Linked DNA regions of Homo sapiens: all the other regions are linked to region 2. Evidence: promoter capture Hi-C in 16 types of primary human blood cells and fetal thymus (Javierre and others, 2016). All regions are on one chromosome and are shown on one strand. Each heading gives the region's core, a stretch centred on a gene start or on the middle of the fragment in contact. The rest is flanking DNA. Distances are from core to core; before and after follow the strand shown. Region 1 overlaps CLEC1A (C-type lectin domain family 1 member A). Region 2 holds the start of CLEC12A-AS1 (CLEC12A antisense RNA 1). Region 3 has its middle 17 kb from the start of KLRF1.

Region 1 (4,363 bases), core at 160-2,659, 140 kb before region 2:
GGGTGAGTGATCTGCTAGAGATGGACTTACGGACCTCTTCCAAGGATGTGCCATTGAAACTGAAATTAATGCAGAGGCAGAAGTAGGGCTGATACAAGGTGCTTAGGGTCAAGCTTGATCAGATCAAGGACTAAACGGGAGACCGTTGTGAGGAGTACATGTGAGTGAGGGGAAAATAGTTCAGAAAGGCATGAAAGAGCTAAGGAAGGTCTCAATAAGACTAATGCAGGATTTAATTTTAAGTGCAATAAAGCTTTTGAAGTTTTTAAGTAGGGAAGTAGCATAATAAAATTGCCATTTTTTTTAAAAAAAGGAGCAATCTGTGAAAAGTGATTTGTATTTTATTCTAAATGTAATGAAAGCTACTTATGAAGGAGATGATTGCTAAGAAATAAGATTCACATTTAAAAATGTATCAGTATGTCTTCTCCGAGACTTTAACTTATTTTGCCTACTAGATTGTAAGTTCCAGAGGATAGTAATTATACTGTCTATTTCTATATTCTTTACTAGTTATCATTCCCCATTTGGAAATAACGTTTCATATAAATCTCTACCTAGAATTGGCCGGGCGCGGTGGCTCATGCCTGTAATCCCAGCACTTTGGGAGGCGGGGTTAGAGGATCACTTGAGCTCAGGAGTTAGAGAACAGCCTGCAGCCTGGGCAACATGGTGAAACCTCATCTCCAACAAAAATATAGGAAAAAAAAATTAGCCAGGCGTGGTGGCACGTGCCTGTAGTTCCGGCTCCTCAGGAGCTGAGGTGGGAGGATTGCTTGAACCTTGGAGGCGGAGGTTGCAGTGAGCTGAGATCTCGCCACTGCACTCCAGCCTGGAAAATCTCTGTACCTAGAATGTATTATGTATAGGACCTTGCTAGAAGGAAAAGAATTTTCCTTTCAAAAAGCCCCTCCGATCTCTTTAATCTTTCTGTTTCAGAACGTGACTTGAATTCTCAGTGAAGTAGAACTAACGGGCTACAAAGAGATCACAGTTTGTTTGAGGGTTTCACTCTCTCTTTGTTTCATTTTTATCACAGTGCTAGATGCTACCTGCACCTGACTGAGACTCTTCCCTTCAGATATGTTAGGTCATTCAGATTCAGATAGGTGACCTCACTAGGTGAGGGGTCTACTCATGACTTACAGTAAAACCTCTGCAATTACTAGTCAAACTTATGGGAATGGAGGGCGAGGAAACCATGTTTGCCACAGTTTTAAAAATTATTTAACTGTTGCAAAAATAGTTTAGATTCATCTTTCTGAAATTGATTATCATGTTTCTTTATAATCTATTTTTGAAAAAATATAAATCAAATGAATGAATAAACAATATCCTTACAATAGCGGGACTTTCAATTAAGCAATTCCACAGAAAAACAGTAAAATTATTACTTCCCATTACTAACATGCAATTTGCCTTTTAGAAAAAGCATATACGGAACTTGGGGGAAGGGGGATGTTTTTCAAAAGTAACAACAAATTAATTTCATCTTTCCCCTGATTATGTAAAAAGTTGTCCCTTGGTAAGGTTCAGAGATTCTCAGGCTGTGTTTCAGACATTTTCGTGAGAGTCTTTCATAATTAGAATTTTGACAAGCAGAAGGTTGTACAAAGAACCACATAAAGATAATGGTAATGCATAGTGTGATTCAGTGCAAAGTAAGACTTGAGGGGTGGATACAAACGGGTGGGGCTTGTGAGAAAATCTAGCTGTGATAAGTGAGGCTTGCACTGAGCCTTATGATGATGTTTCTGAGGACAGAAAGCAGGTTATCCAGCCCCTGTTACCGTTGTCCAGCCTAATTTGTTCTTGTGCAGAATTAACTCCACTCCCTTACCTGTTATTGACTTAGATGCAAGAGGAAGAAAAAGCCAAACTCTGCTTTCTCTTCTGTTCCCTGCAGAGCACAGGGCTCCCTCTTCAACGTGGCGACCAGTGGCCCTGACCCTGCTGACTTTGTGCTTGGTGCTGCTGATAGGGCTGGCAGCCCTGGGGCTTTTGTGTAAGTCTGCGCTCTGACCTGGGGGAGGATCCTGGTTCCAAGGTTTGTCTAGGATGAGAAACACTTGTTATGGATTTGTTTTTTAAACTTTAATTCCTTAGCCTTTGGAAAATTCAGTGTATCTTTTTTTAAATGGCAACTATTTAAATAGTGAATAATGGAAGAAGAAGTAAAAAAAAAATCAGTTGCCAACTAGAATTAAACATTCTGTTTGAGATAAGAAGGGTTTTGTCTGTTTGTTTGTATGTCAATGTTTAAAAAAAATCATTTATTTTAAATAAATGCATGCTTCAGCCCTCTCCCATTCCACAAAAGACTAGGGTATCAGAGGTTTGGGCTCTGAGAATACAAGGTTCAGTGGGCTAGTGCAGAATATGCTACCCATAGAGCCACGGGTACCATCAATACAAGGAGAGTAGGTAAACTCCTTAATCACCATATTTTTTAAAGGCCAGGAAGTTATACAGTCACTTTACAAAAACTTGTGAAAATCAAATTGGAAAAAAGCATATCTAAAAATATTTAAATTTCAAACTAGTAAAAACAAGTTAAAAAGCTTAAAAAAGAAAGTGGATGAATTTGCCTCAGTAGGTGAAGACCCCACAGCAATGTTTCCTAAACAGCTGAATAACTGTTCTTTGAACAGTTCTTTTAACTGTTCTTTGAACAGTTCTTTTAACTGTTCTTTGAACAGTTATTCAAAGAAAAATGTTATATAGAAGAGCAGATTTTAATGTCAAAAATTGGGTTTTATAGGAATTTTAATACTTCTGTTTGTGTCTTATATTTCAAAATTAAAAATAACTTCTTGTTGCCCTTTTTGATCCCAAAAGTTTTGTTTCATTGTGATAGAACTATTGTTTTGCAATCACCATTATTCTTGGAAATATAGAGGAACTCTTATGATTCATGAGGGATTTCTATACTTAGATGTAGAGACCTGAATTTCAAATCTGAATGTTGAAAATTTCTAGTCAAATGATGTTAGGAATTTACTTGTTCTCAATGATCCTAATTGCAAACTGTAAAATCATGGAAAAAATAATAACACTATTTCAATAACTGAATAAGTAACAATATATGGTATATTGTCAATACTCAATATAATGATCAACATATAAACAGATTGGCGGTTTTATGTTGAGTAACATTTGAGAGTATACATAAAAATATTTATCAAGCAGTAAATATAGGTTAAGAATTTATTCCTGAAGTTAGGAACTAATATTATAACTCCACATTTCTATTTATTTATTTATAAATATACATAGATAAATTATTTAAATTATACATTTTTTTTAGGCCAGGAATGGTGGCTCATGCCTGTAATTCCAGCACTTTGGGAGGCTGAGGCGGGCGAATCGCTTGAGGTCAGGAGTTGGAGACCAGCCTGGCTAACATGGTGAAACCTTGTCTCTACTGAAAATACAAAACTTAGCCAGGCATGGTGGTGGGCATCTGTAATCCCAACTACTCAGGAGGCCAAGGCAGGAGAACCGCTTGAACCCAGGAGGCGGAGATTGCAGTGAGCCAAGATCACACCACTGCACTGCACTCCAGCCTAGGTGACAGAGTGAGACTCTGTCTAAAAAAAAAAAAAACAAATATATATATATATATATATATATATATATATATATATATATATATAACTTTGAGGTATGTCCTTTATATGCCAATTTTGCTGAATGTTTTAATCATAAAGGAATGCTGGATTTTGTCAAATGCTTTTTCTGCATCTATTGAGATGATCATAGGATTTTTGTTTTTAATTCTGTTTATGTAATGTGTCATATTTATTGACTTGTGTATGTTAAACCATCCCTGCATCCCTGGGATAAAACCCACTTTATCATGGGGTATTATCTTTTTGATGTGCTGTTGGATTCAGTTAGCTAGTCTTTTTTTTTTTTTTTTTTGAGATGGAGTCTTACACTGTCGCCCAGGCTGGAGTGCAGTGGCATGATCTCGGCTCACTGCAACCTTCGCCTCCCGGGTTCAAGGGATTTTCCTGCCTCAGCCTCCCGAGTAGCTGAGATTACAGGCACCCACTACCACACCTGGCTAATTTTGTGTTTTTAGTAGAGACGGAGTTTCTCCATGTTGGTCAGGCTGGTCTCGAACTCCCGACCTCAGGTGATCCACCTGCCTCGGTCTTCCAAAGTCCTGAGATTGCAGGCATGAGCCACCGTGCCAGGCCTCAGTTAGCTAGCCTTTTGTTGATGATTTTTGCATCAGTGTTCATCAGGGATATTGGTCTGTAGTTTTCTTTTTGTTCTGTGCTTTCCTGGTTTTGGTATTAGTGTGATACTGGCTTCATAGAATGATTTAGGGAAGATTCTCTTTCTCTATTTTTGG
Region 2 (3,884 bases), core at 7-2,506:
ATGGTTGAACTTTATTTGTTCTGATAGGTAATCCAATAAAGGTTGTGAAACAAAATTTTGAATAAAGCAGTTTCCATGATAGTTTGATTATTTTTTTTTTTGAGACAGGATCTCCGTCACCCAGGCTGGAAGTGCAGTGGTGTGATCAAGGCTCACTGCAGCCTCAACCTCCCAGGCTCAGGTAATCCTCCCACCTCAGCCTCCTGAGTAGCTGGGACTACAGGTATGCACCATTACACCCAGCTAATATTTGTATTTTTTGTAGAGACAGGGTTTCACCATGTTGCCCAGGCTGGTCTCGAACTCCTGGGCTCAAGTATCTGCCCACCTCAGTTTCTTGCGCCCAGCTGACAGTTTGATTTTTTTTTTTTTTTTTTTTTTTTTTTTATTGATAATTCTTGGGTGTTTCTCACAGAGGGGATTTGGCAGGGTCATGGGACAATAGTGGAGGGAAGGTCAGCAGATAAACAAGTGAACAAAGGTCTCTGGTTTTCCTAGGCAGAGGACCCTGCGGCCTTCCGCAGTGTTTGTGTCCCTGATTACTTGAGATTAGGGATTGGTGATGACTCTTAACGAGCATGCTGCCTTCAAGCATCTGTTTAACAAAGCACATCTTGCACCGCCCTTAATCCATTTAACCCTGAGTGGACACAGCACATGTTTCAGAGAGCACAGGGTTGGGGGTAAGGTCACAGATCAACAGGATCCCAAGGCAGAAGAATCTTTCTTAGTGCAGAACAAAATGAAAAGTCTCCCATGTCTACTTCTTTCTACACAGACACGGCAACCATCCCATTTCTCAATCTTTTCCCCACCTTTCCCGCCTTTCTATTCCACAAAGCCGCCATTGTCATCCTGGCCCGTTCTCAATGAGCTGCTGGGCACACCTCCCAGACGGGGTGGTGGCCGGGCAGAGGGGCTCCTCACTTCCCAGTAGGGGCGGCCGGGCAGAGGCGCCCCTCACCTCCCGGACGGGGCGGCTGGCCGGGCAGGGGGCTGACCCCCCCACCTCCCTCCCGGACGGGGCGGCTGGCCAGGCAGAGGGGCTCCTCACTTCCCAGTAGGGGGCGGCCGGGCAGAGGCGCCCCTCACCTCCCGGACGGGGCGGCTGGCTGGGCGGGGGGGCTGACCCCCCCCACCTCCCTCCCGGACGGGGCGGCTGGCCAGGCGGGGGGCTGACCCCCCCACCTCCCTCCCGGACGGGGCGGCTGGCCAGGCGGGGGGCTGACCCCCCCACCTCCCTCCCGGACGGGGCAGCTGGCTGGGCGGGGGGGCTGACCCCCCATCTCCGTCCCAGACGGGGTGGCTGGCCGGGCTGAGGGGCTCCTCACTTCCCAGTAGGGGGGGGCGGGCAGAGGCGCCCCTCACCTCCTGGACGGGGCGGCTGGCCGGGCAGGGGGCTGACCCCCCCACCTCCCTCCCGGACGGCATGGCTGGCCAGGCGGGGGGCTGACCCCCCACCTCCCTCCCGGATGGGGCGGCTGGCCGGGCGGAGGGCTAACCCCCCCCACCTCCCTCCCGGACGGGGTGGCTGCTGGGCGGAGACGCTCCTCACTTCCCAGATGGGGTGGCTGCCGGGCGGAGAGGCTCCTCACTTCTCAGACGGGGCGGCTGCCGGGCGGAGGGGCTCCTCACTTCTCAGACGGGGTGGTTGCCAGGCAGAGGGTCTCCTCACTTCTCAGACGGGGCGGCCGGGCAGAGACGCTCCTCACCTCCCAGACGGGGTCTCGGCCGGGCAGAGGCGCTCCTCACATCCCAGATGGGGCGGCGGGGCAGAGGCGCTCCCCACATCTCAGACGATGGGCGGCCGGGCAGAGACGCTCCTCACTTCCTAGATGTGATGGCGGCTGGGAAGAGGCGCTCCTCACTTCCTAGATGGGATGGCGGCCGGGCGGAGACGCTCCTCACTTTCCAGACTGGGCAGCCAGGCAGAGGGGCTCCTCACATCCCAGACGATGGGTGGCCAGGCGGAGACACTCCTCACTTCCCAGACGGGGTGGCGGCCGGGCAGAGGCTGCAATCTCGGCACTTTGGGAGGCCAAGGCAGGTTGCTGGGAGGTGTAGGTTGTAGTGAGCCGAGATCACGCCACTGCACTCCAGCCTGGGCACCATTGAGCACTGAGTGAACGAGACTCCGTCTGCAATCCCGGCACCTCGGGAGGCCAAGGCTGGCGGATCACTCGCGGTTAGGGGCTGGAGACCGGCCCGGCCAACACAGCGAAACCCCGTCTCCACCAAAACCAGTCAGGCGTGGTGGTGCGTGCCTGCAATCGCAGGCACTCGGCAGGCTGAGGCAGGAGAATCAGGCAGGGAGGTTGCAGTGAGCCGAGATGGCAGCAGTACAGTCCAGCTTCGGCTCCACATGAGAGGGAGACCGTGGGGAGAGGGAGAGGGAGACGGAGAGGGAGAGGGAGAGGGAGACGGAGAGGGAGAGGGAGAGGGAGACGGAGAGGGAGAGGGAGAGGGAGAGGGAGAGCGCTCACATCCTGTTTTTTTTTTTTTCCTTGAGACAGGGTCTGACAGTTTGATTTTTAAAGGCCAAATCTCTCCAGACTCCAAAGAACTCTGTAGCCAAACAGCAGCACATACTAATCAGGCCTGCCTGTCCTTAGAGCAGCAGCATAGAAGCCTGGAGACATGGACTTCCATCCCATATTCACATTCAACAGCAAAATAAATCCAAATATAAGGCAGTGCTACAATTCAAAGACTGTCTGAGATCAGATGAGATTGGGCATGTTCAGCGTGATACGGGTAGAGATGTTCCCTCACTCCACTGGCCCACAGCCACATGCAGACCAACCCTGAAGAATACACCCAAGCGGTCTGCACTCAGATCAAACCCTGATCTCCCACAACTACATCAACACACAAACAACCACCAGAATACAATCTAACTGCTGCAACAATAAGCAAGTCCCAAGAGAGTCCAAACTGAAACAGTTGAGTTGCTTTCTCCCTGTTTGTTGGGCTAGTTCAATCTGCAAATGGAGATTCCTTCGGAATTTCTCAAATTGAGAAAAGCAGATCCTGCTGTCTGGACCCACAAATGACACTCACTTATCCAGACACATACTCAATTACTAACAAGCCCCAAGAGTGTCTGAACTGGAACAGTCAGGGTGCTTCCTCTCTCCGTCAGTTGGCCTTGCTGAACTTGCCAATGGAAATTCCTTCAGAATTTCTCAAATTGAGAGGAGCCATTCCCACTGTCGGTATCCACAAAAGACACTCACCTATCCACATGCAGAAGTCAAATTTGAAAGGCTGTTCTTCCTAGGCAATCAGAAATGTGGTTGGGGCTGGCAGCAGCAATGCTAAATAGAAAGACTAAAACCCACATCCTGCCTAAAACACATAGGCTGCTGCTTAGGGTTGCGGAAATTCTCCCAACTGGTGACAGCCAAGCCAAGAGCAATGTCTTCCTGATGAGGGAACCAAAATCTGTTACTGAAATGCCAGAGGTTCAGCCTAGGTCCCGTTACTCATTGCACAGAATGCCAATCACTGAGGCAAGTATTTCCAGGGGAGATGACTTTATTCAGTTGCTGCAGCTGAGAAGAACTGCAGATCAGTCTCAAATTCATCTCCCCAAGTGACTGAAATTGGGGGTTTACATAGCAGAGGAGGGATGTAGCTACGTGCAGGAAATAATGTAGCTATGTGTGGGAAAACAGAATTTGAATTTCAGGTAAAAATGACTTATTTTTAATGTAAGTATTGCTCATCAATATTTGTATTTGCTGTCTCTGCAATTATCTGTGGTCGATTGAAATTCAAATTTAACTGGAAATCTTGTGTCTTAATTTGTTAATATGGCCAGCATATCCATAAGCCCATTGGAGTGGATTGGCTGAAAAAGATGAAGACAAATTTGTACAGGC
Region 3 (3,887 bases), core at 613-3,112, 140 kb after region 2:
GTAGCTGGGACTACAGGCGCCCGCCACCACGTCTGGCTAATTTTATGTATTTTTAGTAGAGACGGGGTTTCACCATGTTAGCCAGGATTGTCGTGATCTCCTGACCTCATGATCCGCCCGCCTCGGCCTCCCAACGTGCTGGGATTACAGGCGTGAGCCACCGCGCCCGGCCAGACCCAATCTTATAAACATTCTTTATTGATGAATGGCCACAGACCTTAAACCAGTTACAGACAGCTTGTGGAGATTATGTACAAACTATTTTTGTACGCTATAGTTCACCTTTTGAGGTAAAGAGCCAAATTCCACCCGATTTAATGTTAAAACACCATCCCAAAGTGACCGTGGGGTGCATGTTACATCTGCTTACCCAATGCACTAGTGCTTGACTTCCTTCATGAATATTCATAAGTATTCACAGAATTTTCCCAACCCTGCTCAGTATGTATGTAAAACTGACTGTATAAGACATGTATACCAGCCCCCTCTCACTTCTTCAGAGAGTGAACTTTCGGATTTTCCCGAAAGCTGCATTTCCCTAATTCTAGGGTTATTTTTCCCTCTGAAAATAAAGTCTTCTCCTTTCCTTCCTTTGTGGATCTCATGGTCTTTTGATAATGAAGATAATAAAAGATCCAATTCCGCCTAATATCTTAAGTCCAACTTTTATCTAATTTAACACTTTTCCTCTCTCTCAGCTTGGATTGGATCTGCTTAGTTTGGGACCATTAAGGGGGCAAGTGAGTATAACGGGCTCTGCATGAGCTTCTTCCCTCTCTAGTATCTCTTTCCATTCCCCAACCCTGATCCCCAGAATGAGTGAAGGTGAAACAAAGGGAATAGAAATAAACACGGAATAAAGATGTTACCAGCCTGGACAGTTTTAATCTGTATGCTGACACTCCAAATGTTTTCTCTCTTTTTTTTTTTTTTTTTGGACTACTTCTATGGGTTTTTCAGAAATTCTGCTCCTGGGGTACTCTGCAGTTGTCTGATGTGTGATGTCTCCTTTGGCAATCCTGCTTGCAAATCACTGTACCTCACCCCTCACAACTCCCCAGGTACCTTTTTTTTTTTTGCTTTCTACTCTATACTTCCAGCTTCTTTTCATTGAGGCTGACTTGCCTGTGGTAAGAAGCAGTCTTAGGTGAATTTTATTTTAGGATGGTTCCCAAATGGCTGCTTTGTATGAGATCTTCATCCGGCCCACAGGAAACACTCCCTTCAGCCTCACCATTGCTGGAAGTGTGGCTTAATCTACACATCTGCTTTTACTCTGTGGTTATGTGTAGTTCTAACAAACTCACATACTGAAAGTGTTCACCTCTGCAACCTCCAACTCCCAGAGGACACTTGCCAATATATGACAGAATCCAAACTTGGCTTAAGGTAAAAGAGAAGTTCTTTTGCTTATTGACACAGAAAGATATTGGGAAATGGGAAGTACACTGGCAAGTCACTTCATAAAAAAAATTCTCACTTCCTAATCTCTGAACACTCATAAACTCTTAATGTGCTCTGAAAGTAGATGATAGATCGAAATTTGAAATAAACACTTTTGCAAGCTTGTTAGCATGTCCTATATAGGAGGTCTAGCACCTATAGAATTGTTCTTGACATTTGTGCCCTCAGATAAAAGTAAACAGCAGGAATGACCACATTTTAATATCCTACTAGTCATTCAATATTTATGAATTATTTTCTGAGGACTTATTACATGTCAGACACTGTTTGGGGAGTCTATTTTAGACTTCAAACATCTTTTAAAAACAAACATTTCATTAAACTATAGGTGAAAATTTAAGCATATAGTCATTAAGTTTGTGAATCAGACCTATCTTGGAGAGGAATTTAATTTGTTTAAATTTATCAAAGGACACACAAAAGATAAGCCCTAGTTATTCTAACCACTTATTAACACAGCTACCTGCGATTTCTGGGAGCTTAACTTCCGTTCAGGCTCAGAAACTCTAATTTTGGGAATATACTTGGACCACATTGTTAATTTGGGAGGATTCAGATAAAGTATGAGAAATGCATTCACATTTGACTATGAGAACATCAAGTTATATTGTATAATACCAAAAATAATGGTCCCTTGAATATATCCAGGATGACCTACAAACAGAATTGTTCCTAGATAAAAACCCTCAAGCTTGTAGAAAATCTATGTTGACACTCACTATTCAGATGTTGTCATTCACAACTCTGAGTTTCAGTGATTTAATGATGAAATTTAGGACTGAGAAGCTTGTTTCTTGCAGATTTATCAACCTTGCTAATTGATCTTTATGTCATTCTCCTTTTGTATACTTCAGGTAAATAAATAAATATTTGATTTATTCATGGGGTGATTTTGTTTGATACATTAATCCATAGGCACAGTCAATATTTTCAAAACAGTAGTTTTACATCAAATAAAGCAGCATTAAAAAAAACAGATTTATCAATAGAATAACAACTTTTGAAAGTGGAACTTATTTTTTTAAATCAATTTTCTTAACCTAAGTTTAAATCTAAGTAACCCGCTTTTTCCAACAATAATAACAATTTATCTTTGAATACTACACAAAATCTCATGACATAATCAAAATTAACTGGGGTATATGGATGCTTCTTTCAAGAATTGGTATCAATTCTGCCTTCTGGAGCCAGTAAACTAAGCGTAACATCAATATGACAGCTGTTGGAACAATTTACGTTAACAAACTTATTCCCAGCAGCCCTTTTCCTGATTCTGGCTAAGTAGCTTTAGTTCCTGGAAATAATACTTAAGTTACGGTTTCAACTAATTCAAATCCCTGTTTTTTCTCATCTGTACTCTTAAAAGTAGGCATTTACATATGTGCATGTATGCAGAGGAAAACTAAGAGAAAGTTAAGATGGTTTGAAACAATCACATAAAAATTATTTCAAAGAATTGGGCCAGGAATGGAGGAAAAAAGTCCCACCCTTTCTTTTTAGATATATTTGTATTGATTTTACCTAAAATTCATTACTTCACACAATCTTATTTTGAGCTTGTTGGTCATTGAATTTCCCCTAGTGCTCTTGCATACATCTACAAATAAAGGCAATTCTTCCCATCTTGTTAACTTCTTCAGTTTAGATTTTAATACACTTAAAAAATTCATCTCGCTAAACTCTCAATTTTCTCCGAAATGCAGAATGTTTGGAGTTTATGATTCTATTACTCAGTGTATTAGATATCCAAGTTGTATGTCATCTATACATTGAATATATTAACCTAAGCATTTATAAAATGTGGAGTAAGAGAGAATGAAATGCAAAACATTCTGGCATATAGAAAATGATCTCTCTCCTAACTAATGGCACCTAACCTGAGGTAGCACTGCTTTCATGTAGATATTATAGCATTCTGTGGCATACATCTCAGTGAAAATCATATACATGATACATTCATTGTTTTCCAAAACCATTAATGTGATAAGTCTTTTAACACCAAGAATACGAGGTCATTCTAGCATGACTTGCCTGCTTACTCATATTACACATATGGATATTTACTAAGACTTAGCTAACTATATTTTTAATATTGCACTCTGCCAACTCTTGCCTAAAGCTCTTTGATTCAAACGTCTACCAAACCAAGGCTGCATGATTGCAGCATTCTGTGGTACATGGAGAAACTACTGTTAGCATTCACTCCTGCTTTTGGGGAGGATGCGGGTCTTTTTTGAGCCTACTGTTTTCTTACCATCCTGTCATTGATCTTTAAGCTAGTTAACTTTAAGTGAATATATTTTCTAACATATTAGGATATATAGATGATTACCATGAACCTAGTTACCTGTTATTACAACTAGGGCATAAGTTCTAATTATTTGAAATCACTGTTATTCTGAAAAAAAAATCAAAAAGCAAGT

The links. Contacts are between HindIII fragments. The CHiCAGO score rates a contact against its expected background, and 5 or more counts as called.
Region 1: a fragment that was not itself captured here is called in contact with the fragment with the promoter of CLEC12A-AS1 in region 2 in 1 of 17 cell types (neutrophils); the score reaches 5.5 in neutrophils.
Region 3: a contact is called between a fragment that was not itself captured here and the fragment with the promoter of CLEC12A-AS1 in region 2, in 9 of 17 cell types (activated CD4 T cells, neutrophils, naive B cells and 6 more). The highest score is 7.0, in activated CD4 T cells.

What each region holds. Positions count from the first base shown.
Region 1 is chr12:10,086,766-10,091,128 of GRCh38, reverse strand. CLEC1A (C-type lectin domain family 1 member A) reads left to right here. Exons shown (of 6, transcript NM_016511.4): 2 at 1,907-2,005. Among named protein-coding and RNA genes, the nearest start is that of CLEC1A, 10 kb to the left of the region's middle. The HindIII fragment of the contact is 2,308 bases long and covers 256-2,563 here.
Region 2 is chr12:9,950,709-9,954,592 of GRCh38, reverse strand. It overlaps CLEC12A-AS1 (CLEC12A antisense RNA 1), which reads left to right and starts at 1,256. Exons shown (of 3, transcript NR_135047.1): 1 at 1,256-2,043; 2 at 2,514-3,691. LOC124902874 (a long non-coding RNA gene) reads right to left here and starts at 2,936. Exons shown (of 2, transcript XR_007063207.1): 1 at 1,556-2,936. It also overlaps a transcript of CLEC12A not described here. The HindIII fragment of the contact is 17,088 bases long and covers 1-3,884 here.
Region 3 is chr12:9,808,369-9,812,255 of GRCh38, reverse strand. It overlaps a transcript of KLRF1 not described here. Among named protein-coding and RNA genes, the nearest start is that of KLRF1, 17 kb to the left of the region's middle. The HindIII fragment of the contact is 590 bases long and covers 1,568-2,157 here.